Regions from separate parts of the Homo sapiens genome. Here region 2 is linked to region 1. Evidence: promoter capture Hi-C in 16 types of primary human blood cells and fetal thymus (Javierre and others, 2016). All regions are on one chromosome and are shown on one strand. The core of a region is centred on a gene start or on the middle of the fragment in contact, and the rest is flanking DNA. Distances in the headings are between cores, read along the strand shown.

Region 1 (3,061 bases), core at 271-2,770:
ATTTGAATGTAATGTAACCGCCAGCTCAGATATACTATTCTTCTTAGAAGGAAACAGAAATAAAGGAACAGGGAAAGGAGACAGGAGCAGAGGTCTTGGAGATGAAAAGCAAAAGCCTCTCTGAAGTTGTCAAAACACTCAAGTGTCGGCCAGGTGTGGTGGCTCACGTCTGTAATCCCAGGACTTTGGGAAGCCGAGGGGGGCAGATCACTTGAGGTCAGGAGTTCGAGACCAGACTGGCCAACATGGTGAAACCCCATCTCTACTAAAAATACAAAAATCAGCCAGGTGTGGTGGCATGCACCTGTAGTCCCAACTACTCGGGAGGCTGAGGCAGGAGAATTGCTTGAATCTGGGAGGCAGAGGCTGCAGTAAGCCGAGATTGTGCCACTGCACTCCAGCCTGGGCAACAGAGTGAGACTTTGTCTCAAAAAAAAGAAAAGAAAAGAAAAGAAAAACTCAAATGTAAGATCAGAGCTTTAGGGCGCCACAGGCCTTGGTTCCAGGGAGCTGCAGGACCTCTGTCCACAAACGAACCAACGGCGCCGCACCGTGTGATTTTGGAGACGGTGCCAGAGAGGGGGCGGCACCAGGATTGACAAGTGGGACACATGGGCTTGGGGCTGGGGAGGTGGATCCTAGTTCAACTCCGGAAGGATGCTCTCCTGGCAAGTGTGGGAAGGGGGTGCTCCCTGTGACCAGAGGTGACAAACGCAGGCCAGTGGAGGCTGAGGGGATGCAACCATGCGTTGGAGACATTTCCTCAGCCTTTGGATTTTGGAACCCTCAAACAACAGCAAAGATAACCTTAATCCAACCATTGTGGGCATTTTTACCATCGTCTTGGGAGGGACAGAGGTGGACAGACGTCCCTGCTTAGGGATGGGACGGGCAGGGGAACAGAGGCTTCTCTCTCTTTGTCTTGCTTCCCGTTCCCTCCCGAAGTTGATCTCTTCCGTTTCCTGGCAACACCCATTGAGCACTTACTGTATGCAGACCCTGAGACCCACTGCCCCCTCCCCAACCTCACTGGGCCACCCATGTCAGCCCGGGAGGGACCTGACCTCCCTCACAGGCCCAAAGTTATGACCTCAGGTAGTGGGGACAGAGGCAGCTGTCTCCTGAGAAGGTGACAGGAGGGTGAGGTCACATCGCTGTCCGTGCAACTCTCTCCATCTGCTTCCTATCTCTCCGCCTGTCTCCCCCGTGTCTCTGTTTCTGGGTCTCTTTCTCATCCCAGATGTCCCTCTCCGTCTGTCTCTCTGTCCCCACCCTCTGCTCCCAACCCGACCCCACGCAACCCCCCCCCCCACTCCCCCTCCACCGCCCCTAACCCCCTCCCTCAATCCTCCGTCCCTTCCCCAGTCCCGGCCCCCGCCCCTCCCCCTTATCCCCTCCCCCATACCCTCTCCCAGTGCAAAAAGCCGGCAGGGGGCGCAGCGGGGCGGCCTTGGCGGCCCGGGGAGGCGGGGCGGGCGGCGGCCGCGTCGGGACCGGCCGCGATGGGACCGGAGGCGGCGCGGGCGGCGGCGGCGCAGACAAAGGCACGGGCGGCGTGGAGGGCGGCGCGGAGGGCGCGGGCCCGGGAGCCAGGGAGCGAGCGGGGCGCCCGGCAGCGCGGAGTCAGCGCCGCGGGGGCCGCACCCGACTCGCGCCTGGACACTCGCGGGGCGCCGACCTGGCAGGGTGAGCCCGGCCTGCCGAGCCTGCGCTGGGAGCGCGGGGGCCTCGAAGTCCCAGGGCCAAGGGGAGGGCGTGGGGGTTCCCCAGAAGTTTCGGACCCGGGACTGGGAGCGGCGCGAGGGGTCCCCAAGTTCCAGGGCTGGAGGGAGCGCGGGGGTCCCGAAGTTCTGGATTCAGGGTCTGAGAGGGGACTGCGTGGGAGGTTCCCAAAGTTCTGGACCCGGCGTTGGAGGAGGCTGCGAAGAGGTCCCCAAAGCTGCGGACCTGGGGTGGGGTACTGGGGTGGGAGGGGTCCGGACGTCCCGGACCCAGGGACTGGAGGGGTGGCAGGGGGTCCTCGAAGTTTAGGAGTCTAGGACAACGCGGAGGACCGGGGTCCCGGACCCAGTTAGAGGAGGAGTCACGAAGGGAGTCCCCGGAGTTACCGACCTGGGGTTGGAGGAGGCAGAAGAGGTGTCCCCCGAAGTTCTGGACCCAGAGACAGGGGGCGTCGCGGGAATCTCGGAAGTTCCAGGGTCAGAGCCCGCGTCCCGGAGTTGGGGCGTGCACTGGGTGTCCTGCCTCGGGTGGGGATGGGATCCTGAATTAATATTAACCCCCCCGTCCCCCGCACTCGGGTGCATGGGATGGGGCCTCATCCACCGGCCAGATTGGGGATCCCGGGCACCGGGCGGTGTCGGACCCCCCTCCGGGAGCCCCGTGGCCGGCGGCATCCGAGGCGCATGACTAGTTGGTGAGTAACTTTCCCCAAACGCTGCAAGTCGCAGCAGGAGCTGCCGGACCGGAAGGGCCTGGGTTCCGGGGACCCCTGTGTTCCCCAACTCCCACCCGGCGCAGGACCCGCCCCCAGTCCAGGCCAGAGCTGCCGCCCCACCCCCACTCAGGGGCTCCGGTTTCAGACCCTGTGACCAGGACAGCAGCTGCCCAGGACAGGATAGGGGGGGCATCCCCCCTTTGACCACAGAGGCCGCTGGGCCAGGGCCTCCCCTCCCCCACCTGTCTTCCCCCTCCTCCAAACTCCTCCTTGGTCCCCTGCAGATTCGGGGTTGCTGAATGGCCCAATGGGGAGGTTGGGGAGCCCTGGTCTCCCAGTGTGGATTCTGCTCTGCCCTCATGGTGGGCATTGGGATTGGCTGTTTGTCTACATCTTGTCTTTTTAACTTGGCTGGGGGCTCCCTGGGGATTTGGACTCTGGACTTCAAGGTGTGCTTCTGCCCTAGGGTGGGAGCTGCTGGGGGTGGGGTCCCTCTGCAGGGTGTAGTGGGGAACTGGTCTCCTGGTACTACACACCTCTCAACGCCCCATTTTTTGGTGGAGAGCCCCGCTCTGGCCAGTCATGGGTGAATGTGGTGGAAAGAACTCAGCAGAGATTTGGCCT
Region 2 (3,061 bases), core at 385-2,884, 300 kb after region 1:
GACAAAAATGTGTACACTCATGTTCATAGCAGCATGATTCATAATAGCCAAAAGGTGGAACCAATCTAAGTGTCCATCAACAGATGAATGGATGATGTGGTGCATCCACACAGTGGAATATTACTCAGCCATAAAAAGGAATGAAGTGCTGATTTAGGCTACAACATGCATGACCCCCAAAGCATCATGCTGAGTGAAAGAAGCCAGACTCAAAAGGCCACATAGTGCATGATTCTACCTATAAAACTTGAAAACGGATAGAGACAGACTGCAGATTGGTGATTGTCAGGGGCTGGGCAATGGAGAATAGGGGGTTAGTGCTAATGAAGATGGGGTCACCTTTTGCGGGGACAAAGATGTTTTGGAACTGGACAGCAGTGATGGTTGCACAATTCTGTGAATGTACTAAATGCCACTGAATTGTTCACTTAAAGTGGGTGAATTTTGTGTTACATATATAGTACCTCAAAAACAAAAAACAAAAATACAGGTTGGGCATAGTGGTTCATGCTTGTAATCCCAGCACTTCGGGAGGCTATGGCAGGAAGATCACTTGAGCCCAGGAGTTCAAGACCAGCCTGGGCAACATAATCAGACCCCATCTTGGCCGGACACAGTGGCTCATGCCTGTAATCGCAGCACTTTAGGAGGCCAAGGTGGGCGGATAACCTGAGGTCAGGAGTTCGAGACCAGCCTGACCAAGATGGAGAAACCGCATCTCTACTAAAAATACAAAATTAGCCAGGCATGGTGGCACATGTCTGTAATCTCAGCTACTCGGGAGGCTGAGGCAGGAGAATCGCTTGAACCCAGGAGGCGGATGTTTTGGTGAACCGAGATCATGCCATTGCACTATAGCCTGGACAACAAGAGCAAAACTCTATCTCAAAAAAAAATAATAATAAGACCCCATCTCTATAAAATAATATATATATTTTTTAAGACAGTCTGGTTCTCTCGCCCAGGTGGGAGCGCAGTGGAGCGATCTCAGCTCACTGCAACCTCTGCCTCCCGGGTTCAAGTGATTCTCTTGCCTCAGCCTCCCGAGTAGCTGGGATTACAGGCACGTGCCACCAATCCTGGCTAATTTTTGTATTTTTAGTAGAGAAGCGGTTTCACCATGTTGGCTAGGCTGGTCTCAAACTCCTGACCTCAAGTGATCTGCCCACCTCGGCCTCCCAAAGTCCTAGGATTACAGGCATGAGCCACCGCGCCCGGCCCAAAACAATTTTTAAAAATTAGTCAGGTGTGGGCTAGGCACAGTGGCTCACGCCTGTAATCCCAACACTTTGGGAGGCCAAGGCAGGTGGATCACGAGGTCAGGAGATCAAGACCACCCTGGCCAACATGGTGAAACCCCGTCTCTATTAAAAATACAAAAATTATTTGGGCGTGGTGGCGTGCACTGGTAATCCCAGCTACTCAGGAGGCTGAGGCAGGAGAATCGCTTAAACCCAGGAGGTGGAGGTTGCAGTGAGTCCAGATTGTGCCACTGCACTCTAGCCTGGGCGACAGAATGAGACAATGTCTCAAAAAAAAAAAAATTAGGTGTGTTAGTAGATGCCTGTAGTCCCAGCTACTCGGGAGGCTGAAGCAGAAGGATAGCTTGAGCCCAGGAGGTCAAGAAGGCTGCAGGTAGCTACGACACTGCATGCCAGCATGGGCGACAGAGTGAGACTCTTCCTCAAACCAAACCAAACAAACAAACAAAAAACCACAAGCCGGGCGCAGTGGCTCACGCCTGTAATCCCAGCACTTTGGGAGGCCCAGGCAGGCAGATCACCTGAGGTCAGGAGTTCCAGACCAGCCTGGCCAACATGGAGAAACCCCACCTCTACTAAAAATACAAAATTAGCCAGGCTTGGTGGCAGGCGCCCGTAATCCCAGCTACTCGGGAGGCTGAGGTAAGAGAATCAGTTGCTTGAGCCCGGGAGGTGGAGGTTGCAGTGACCATGCCACTGCACTCCAGCCTGGGCAACAAAAGCGAAACTCCATCTCAAACACACACACACACACACACACACACACACACACACACACACACTAGGTGACTAGCAAAAGTGTCCTGGGGACTACTTGAGCTTGCATGGTCAGGCAGGTGGCTCTGAGGGGCCAGAACCTTGGAGAGTGGAAGGATGAAGAGGAAGGAGACGTGGGCAGGTTGAGGCGAGGAGGTGGGTCGTGCTCCAGGCCTGGCTGTCCCATTTGCAATAAATGAAGGAACAGACGAACAATGCTACAAAGACTCAATGTCTCAAAATGACTTTTGGGAGAATGTCTTGTACCAATCTCCCTCAAAATATGATCCATTTTCTGCATGCTCCATCTTGCCACATTAGGGGTTCTCCCCACACTAGCACCTGAGGCATGAGATGCCCCTATCAGTTGCTCCAAACAGTGATTTTTCACTAGGATGGAGGATAGGGGAGAATGACAAAGATGTCTTTTAAGAAAGAGGGCCGGGCATGGTGGCTCACGCCGTAATCCCAGCACTTTGGGAGGCTGAGGCGGGCAGATCACAAGGTCAAGAGATCGAGACCAGCCTGACCAACATGGAGAAACCCCGTCTCTACTAAAAATACAAAAATTAGCCGGGTGTGGTGGCACACGCCTGTAATCCCAGCTACTCGGGAGGCTGGGGCAGGAGAATTGCTTGAACCTGGGAGGCAGAGGTTGCAGTGAGCCAAGATCACGCCACTGCACTCTAGCCTGGGCAACAGAGCAAGCCTCCATCTCAAAAAAAAAAAAAAGAAAAAAGAAAAAGAGCCGGGTGTGGTGGCTCATGCCTCTAATCCCAGCACTTTGGGAGCCTGAGGCAGGCAGATCACCTGAGGTCAGGAGTTTGAGACCAGTCTAGCCAACATGGTGAAACCCCGTCTCCACTAAAAATACAAAAATTAGCCGGGTGTGGTAGCATGCACCTGTAATCCCAGCTACTCGGGAGGCTGAGACATGAAAATCGCTTGAACCCAAGAGGTGGAGGTTACAATGAGCTAGGATCGCACCACTGCACTCCAGCCTGGGCAACAAAGCGAGACTCAGTCTTAAAAAAAAAAAAAAA

What was found. The method cuts DNA at HindIII sites, captures the fragments that hold promoters and counts their contacts. A CHiCAGO score of 5 or more calls a contact.
Region 2: a fragment that was not itself captured here is called in contact with the fragment with the promoter of HOMER3 in region 1 in 2 of 17 cell types (erythroblasts and monocytes); the score reaches 5.7 in erythroblasts.

Annotation. Positions count from the first base shown.
Region 1 is chr19:18,939,676-18,942,736 of GRCh38, reverse strand. HOMER3 (homer scaffold protein 3) reads left to right here and starts at 1,520. Exons shown (of 10, transcript NM_004838.4): 1 at 1,520-1,686. HOMER3-AS1 (HOMER3 antisense RNA 1) reads right to left here and starts at 2,483. Exons shown (of 3, transcript NR_134913.1): 1 at 2,113-2,483. RefSeq lists a silencer at 1,357-1,556. The HindIII fragment of the contact is 10,102 bases long and covers 1-3,061 here.
Region 2 is chr19:18,641,322-18,644,382 of GRCh38, reverse strand. All of the region lies in intron 1 of KLHL26 (kelch like family member 26), which reads right to left. Among named protein-coding and RNA genes, the nearest start is that of KLHL26, 5.8 kb to the right of the region's middle. The HindIII fragment of the contact is 3,768 bases long and covers 1-3,061 here.